2 separate regions of the Homo sapiens genome follow, and region 1 is linked to region 2. The links are contacts of gene promoters, found by promoter capture Hi-C in blood cells and fetal thymus (Javierre and others, 2016). All regions are on one chromosome and are shown on one strand. Each heading gives the region's core, a stretch centred on a gene start or on the middle of the fragment in contact. The rest is flanking DNA. Distances are from core to core; before and after follow the strand shown. Region 1 holds the start of PWAR6 (Prader Willi/Angelman region RNA 6). Region 2 holds the start of PWAR4 (Prader Willi/Angelman region RNA 4).

What was found. Contacts are between HindIII fragments. The CHiCAGO score rates a contact against its expected background, and 5 or more counts as called.
Region 1: the fragment with the promoter of PWAR6 here is called in contact with the fragment with the promoter of PWAR4 in region 2 in 5 of 17 cell types (neutrophils, monocytes, non-activated CD4 T cells and 2 more); the score reaches 5.7 in neutrophils.

Annotation. Positions count from the first base shown.
Region 1 is chr15:25,029,559-25,033,175 of GRCh38, forward strand. It overlaps PWAR6 (Prader Willi/Angelman region RNA 6), which reads left to right and starts at 2,315. Exons shown (of 1, transcript NR_146168.1): 1 at 2,315-3,617. The region is part of intron 23 of SNHG14 (small nucleolar RNA host gene 14); the gene reads left to right. The HindIII fragment of the contact is 7,287 bases long and covers 1-3,617 here.
Region 2 is chr15:25,210,053-25,213,290 of GRCh38, forward strand. It overlaps PWAR4 (Prader Willi/Angelman region RNA 4), which reads left to right and starts at 1,640. Exons shown (of 1, transcript NR_022010.1): 1 at 1,640-1,981. It overlaps SNHG14 (small nucleolar RNA host gene 14), which reads left to right. Exons shown (of 148, transcript NR_146177.1): 102 at 1,555-1,686; 103 at 2,072-2,117. It overlaps SNORD115-23 (small nucleolar RNA, C/D box 115-23), which reads left to right and starts at 1,744; the gene lies at 1,744-1,825. The HindIII fragment of the contact is 4,906 bases long and covers 1-3,238 here.

The sequences.
Region 1 (3,617 bases), core at 1,065-3,564, 180 kb before region 2:
CTGACTAAGTTGTCAGAAAGTGTTGATTTTTAGAAGGATATTGAGACATTGGGTATATAGGGTATATGACTCCTTGTCTTCCTTTCATTCTGGCTTCTTACCAGCTGTTGTGAATAAGTTTAAGATTTCTTCTGACGTTATAAACTTCAGAAAAGGTATGGCTGTTTGTTCAGTTTGAAGTAGTATCATATCCGCCAAAGCCTTGTTCAATTGTCTTGTTGATTCATGGTTCTCTTCAGTGATAATATTATATGGGATTCCTACCCACAGCCACCCAATATCTCAGTGGAGAAATGCAGGTTTGGAGAGAACATCTGAATAGAATCACGCTAAGATGGTACATTTGCACTGAGACCATTGTTATGTGGCAGGCAGACATGAAGTATCCTAGGATTGATCAGTATGCCTTAATGTAAATAGCTGCATATAGACCTGATTTCTTAGGCTCCCCACTTCAAGCTCTTGAATATTGTGTTGATATCCTTATCAATACACTTTGTCTTGTGTTCTGTGTTGTTTTTCCAAAATATAACGAGCTCCTACTTGACAGGGATTTTTTCTTTCTATTGTCTTACGATAAAATGTCAAGATAAAAATGTATGAGTTTCATTAAAGTTTATTGAATAAAATTTGTGATGGAATGAGTGACAGCGAGGTCATGAATGAGAGAGAATATGGAAATAATGGAGAATGTGATATTCTGATAGTCATGCAATATTCTTTTTGATATAATATGTAACATATATTAGTATGTTATATTCTATGTATTATTTGTCATATATTATTACTATATCCTGTTGCTATATTTGGATAATTTGGGAATCTGCCATGTTTGATGATGTTGAAAAGAGAACATAAAATGTAGTGATTTCTTAATAAGGTGTAGAGGTGTAGGTATTAACTCTTTAAGAATATAGTGATTTATTTTAAAATAATGATAGGAAAGGACCATAAAAATGTCTGAATTTGGGAAATTAGAAAATGTTTTCTCTCTGGGGCTTTCATATGTCTGTTCTATGTGAATGTCGCTTTGCCATGGCTCCCTCTTTGCTAACTCTTCTTAACCCCTGCAGAGAAGGAAGTGTAGTGATGGTATTTTGAGTCCATCTTCAGGTTTATTGGGAATGCAAGGGAAATGAGTTGTTACCAATGGGAGTAAAGGGCTAGTTGCTATGCCAGTAGCTGCTACTTTTGACACTGCTTGAGCAATCTGAATGGCTAGGTTTGAATCTGGCTTCTCAGTCAGAATTTTACCTTCACTCTAATGCTGCTTTTTTTCAAATCACCTATATTTACATAAATATGAACCAACTTCAGTGATCTTAATTCTTTCCCGAAGATCCAAGTTTCTTTCCATCTGCCTGAAGAACTTTCTTTAGCACTTCTGGTATAGCAGACCTACTGATGATAATTTTTCTTTTAGTATATGGTGATTAGTTTACTTTTTATTCAACTGTGTCTTTTTTTGAAGTCTTCTTCATTGAAATATATTGTTACTAAATATAGAATTAATGGCTTTCTTTAAGCACTTCAAAGATAATCCACTGTTTTCTGGACTCCGTTGATACTTAAGTCTTTATTTTTGTGTAATTCTTTTTCTTTAAATGTGCCATTTTTCATTTTTCTCTGACTCCTACCTACTAAGATATTTTTACCTAAGTATTGAGTCAGTTTTGGTTATGATGTGACTCAGTGTGTTTTTATTTATATTGTTTGGTTGTTTGAACTTCTTGAATCTGTAAATGTTGTGCTTTATGTTAAATTTGGGGGGATTTCAGCCATTTAAAATATAACTTTTCAGTCTCTTCCCCCTGGGACTCCAATTTTTACATATGTATTAGACCTATTAATATTTTTCTATGGATACCTGACATTCTTTTTAAATCTTATTTTTGGTGTTTTTCACTTTGAACAACCTAATAATTTGTTTCCATCCATGTTCACTCACTGTTTATTCTATTTTTTCCCAATCTGCTCTTAAGCCTATCCTGTGAATTTTCTTTTTAATTTATTTTATTTTTTAGTTCCAGATATTTTCTGCTTTTTGTTTGTTTTTGAGACAGAATCTTTCTCTGTCACACAGGGTGGAGTGCAGTGTCATGGTTCACCGCAGCCTTGACCTCCTGGTCTCAAGTGATCCTCTCACCTTAACCTACCCACTCCTAAGTAGCTAGAACTACAGGTGCATGCCACCACGCTCAGCTAATTTTTTATTTTTGTAGAGATGGGGTCGTTGTGTTGCCCAAGCTGGTCTTGAACTCCCAGACTCAAGCAGTCTTCCTGCCTCGGCCTCATGCCCGCGCCAACCAGTTCTTTATTTTTAATATTATGTTGTATTTGATGTGCTATCCTATTCATTTAGTATAAGCACATTTTTCTTTATGTCTTCAGCATAATTATATGCTTTTTCAGAATTTTAACATCAGGACTGCTTCCAGGGTAGCTTTATTGCCCTTTGTCTTAAGTATGGATTATAGTTTTCATTCTTTGTATGTCAAGTAATTTTGGATTGTAACTTGAACTTTGAATATACTGTAGAAACTCTGAATTCTATTTTATTCTTCTAAAACAATATTTCTCAGCTTCAGCACTACTGACATTTTGAACTGGGTCATTTTGTTTGTGTTGTTGTGTGTATTTTGGGAGGGTACTGTTCTATATGCATTGTGGGGTACTGAGTATTATCCTTTGTCTCCACTCACTACTTACCAGTAGCATAACTCTCTCTCCTCCCCACATCCCCTGCCAAAAAATGCCTTCAGTCCTTTCTAAGCGCTCTTTTTTATGGTGTTGGGGCCAAAATCATGCATCTTTACTCACTCTTTCTCATTGAGAGCTATGGCTATAAAGGGTAGTGATACTTTTACTTATTTATTTTTAAGGCAAGCAGTTAACTTAGCTGGATTCAAACTCCAGGCTGCCTCGTGTGCTGTGGGAAGCAGCCTACGCTCTATTCAGTTCTTTTCTTTTCATATTGGTTGGGTTACTTTGAGTCTGGCCTACATGATGGGCAGTTTAGAGGTCAACCAAAGGATTTCAGCAGAACTTATACACAGAATTTCATTCAGGCTTCCCGTGTCTGATTGGCTACAGTGTGGGAATTTCCTCCCACTTTTCAGCCACTACTGAGGATGCCTTTCGGCAAAATTCCTTGAAATTGGAAACTTACAGGGAAATTCCTTTCCTCCAAGAGTGCGCTCTCCTCCAGTGTTGGCTTGCTTTTGGTTGTTCTCCGTGGTTTTAGATAGCTGTCTTTATATTAATTCTGGAGTTTACAGTTGATATCTGTTGGGGGCTTAGTTTGATAACATGTATTCTTCTATTACTAGTAGCCAGACCTGTATGTCTTACTTGACCTGATGGAGAAAAGTTTCAACTTATGAGACAATACTGTGCTAGCTAGTTTTACTGATTTGTACTCTAAAGTACCCAAGCCTAAAATAGTAGAGCTGTCTATCCCACATGAAACTTCTCTGATTTTCACTGTTTTTTATAAAAAGTATACATGTTCACATTTCTGTAGGTTTTTTTAAGCATCACAATTTTTATAAACTTTCTATATTTCCAAGGTCTACCTGCTTTGTATTTTGCCTAGTGAGAGTTTTGTATTCATGTAG
Region 2 (3,238 bases), core at 390-2,889:
GGGCCACTGTATTTTGGGCTGGAGACCTGGAGGCCCTCAAGGGCCTCTCACAGGGACCCAACCCTGTCTCTGCACTCCTCCGTGAAGCACAGCAGGCTCCCTGTGCGGACTTGGTGTTGGCACTGTTTCCCAGGGGCAGGGCACATTGGTGGCTTTTCCCTGAGTCCCCATTCTTGCCTTGTGTCTTTCAGTGAGCTCTTCAGCTCAGAAGGGCCCCTTCACCTTGATTAGCCTAGGTGAGTGCATCCTGCTGGTGTCATGGGCCATGAGTCAGGCCGCGTGGGGTCACCAAGGGTCAGTCTTTAGGACAGGAGGGTTTCCTCAGGGAGCCAACCTGTATTTCCACCGGGGAGGGATGGTTTCTACAGGAGGGCGGCTTCCTTGGGAACTGGACCCAAGATGTTGCCTTCCTGAAGCCCTGCAGGGATGACAGTGGTCCAGGCAGCAAAGACTTCCTTCAGCCCCGTGCAGGAGAGCTCCCAGCTGAGACTCAGTGCATGTGTCAGGCCTCGAGGATTGCCGAGGCCACATGATGGGGGCCACAGGGCCTCCGGGGCACCACGGGGGTCATGCAAGAGTTCTCTTTCCCTGGAGAGGGGTGCTTGAATGAGCCTATGGGATTGGGCCGTGGAGATTCAAGGATTGTACCCAACTATGTCCCAAAATGGGACTGACCCTGTTGAGCTATGGACCATCCCATGGTGCCTCTTTGAGCTTGGTGGGGGGCAGTGCTGTTTCCCTGGGTTTGGGTCAAGGCTGAGCTCTGGCCAGTGCCTGGTGAGGCTGTGGGCCGGACCTGGGACTCGTGAGCTTTAGGCCAAGTCGACAGCTTGTGTCCTGCTGGAGGTCACCCCTTCCCCATGGGTGAGTGGCTGGAAGAGTGGAATGTGCGGTGGGAAGGCCCGCTGTTGATGGTCCTATCCTGAGAATTTGCTGCCCAGACTCTCTGTGCCATGGGGTCATGTCCAGGGTGGCAGGGTCTTGGGCCTAGGGAAAGGAAAGGACACCATGTGGCCCAGGATTGGCCAAGGGTGGCCCGGATCTGTGTTTGGGACATGTGTGGGGCATGGATGGGGACCCACCAGAGAAAGCACATGGCCCTGGTACTCCAGGCTGTGATTTCAGGTGTGGCTTGGAGAGAGTGCCTGGGCAGGTGCCCACCATGCCCAGCGGCAGGCTATGCAACTTCCATGTCCACGGTGGCACATGGCTTCTGGGCCAGGCTCCTCGGTTGGCCATGAGCATGTCGGTGACCCTGTCCCATGCTCAGTGGTCCTGGGGCAGCCCTGGGATCGTGTGAAGGAGAAGTCAGAGGGGGCACTGGATGTGCCCTCAAGGTCTGCAATAGCATGAAGACCAGGGGTCTTGCCCAAGCCCAGTGATCCACCTGCCCTGTTTTTTCAGGGTTTGGTGATGGGGAGGGCCGAGAGTGCCCTGTATCCGTGACAGGTCAGTGTTCCACATGGATCCCATCACATGGGTATCCCTTACCCCATTCCCCACCTGGAGGTATGAGGCCCTGTTTGGACACATGTCCTCCTCCTGTCCATCCAGATGGTGAGCCTGAAGGAAGACTTGCATCAGGACCAATGGACCCTGGCAAGTGTCCGTCAGCCAGGTGCTCAGCCCCTGGTGCACTGAAGCTCAGGCCCTTCCTGGCCCCTTGATCTCCTGCACTGAGCTGTGGTGAGCACATCCGGGTCCCGCTGGATGTATGTGTGGGCAGGGGGGGTGCCCTGGGTTGGGTCAATGATGAGAACCCTATATTGTGTTGAAGAGAGGTGATGACTTAAAATTACCATGCTCAATGATTACGCTGAGGCCCAACCTAGGTGAGAAATTTGGAGGAGGATGCTGGGATCCCGAGATTTCCGGCAGGGCCACTGTATTTTGGGCTGGAGCCCTGGAGGCCCTGAAAGGTATCTGGAGGAGGCCCAACTCTGTCTCTGCACTCCTCTGTGAGGCAGCCCAGGCTCCCTGTGCGGGCTTGGTGTTGGCCTTTCTGTTCCCCAGTGAAGTGGCACGTGGGTGGCTCCTCCCTGAGCCCCAGTTCTCCCCTTGTGTCTTTCAGTGAGCTCTTCTGCCAAGGGGGGGCCTCCTGGCATTGACCAACATAGGTGAGTGGATCCTGCTGGCATCATGGGCATGGGTTCACTGAGGGTCAGACTTCAGGCCATGAGGGTTTCCTCAGGGAGCTGACCCCAATTCCCATCAGGGAGGGATGGTTTCTCCAGGAGGGCGGCTTCCTTGGGAATCTTACCTGAGGAGGATGCCTTCCCTGAAGATCTGCAGGAATGACAATGGTCCAGATAGCAAAGGGTTCCTTCAGCCCCATGCAGGACATCGCCCAGTTGAGACTTGGTGTGCAGGTCAGGCCTTGAGGACTGCCCAGGCCACATGAGGCGGGCCAGAAGGGCTCCAGGGTGCCACGGGTTTCACTTGGGAGCTCTCGGTCCCCGGGCATGTTCCTGGGGGGGGTGGTGATGGGGTCGGGCCATGGAGGTTCAAGGATCTCATCCCACCTGTGACCCTGAATGGGGCTGATCCTGTTGAACAATGGGCCATCCCAGTGGCACGTATTGAGCCTGGTCAGGGGTGGTGCAGTTTCAATGGGGTTGGGTCAAGGTTGAGATCTGGCCAGCTCCTGGTGGTGCTTCAGGCCAGTCCTGTGACCCATGGGCTTTGGGCTAAGGGGGCATCCCATGTCCCATGGGGGTCACCTGTTCTCCATGTTTGAGTGGCAGTAACAGTGGCATTCTGAGGTGGGAAGGTCCACTGTCTAGGGTGTTGTACCGGGAATTTGCCACCCCGCCTTCTTAGCCAAGGGGTCACCTCCAGGGTCTCGGGATCTTGGGCCCAAGGAAACGAGAAGATACCATGTGGCCCTTGATTGGCCGAGTGTGGCCCAGCTCTGTGTTTGAGAGGTGTGGGATATGAATGGGGTCCCACCAGTGAAAGCTCATGGCCCAGGTCCCCAGGCTGTGATTTTTAGTGCACACTTGGGGAGGGCTCCTCAGTGGGTGCCCACCACGCCCAGAGGCAGGCTATGTGACTGCCAGGTCTGCAACGGTGCATAGCTTCCAGGCTACCCTCCTTGGTTGGCTGGGAGCGGGTTGGTGGCCATGGCCCATGCCCAGTGGTCACAGGGCAACCCTGGGATCATGCAGGGGAGCTGGTGAGGGCAGTGGAGGTGCTCTCCGGAACGGAAGTATGGCTCAGCCCAGGTATCTGGCCCAAA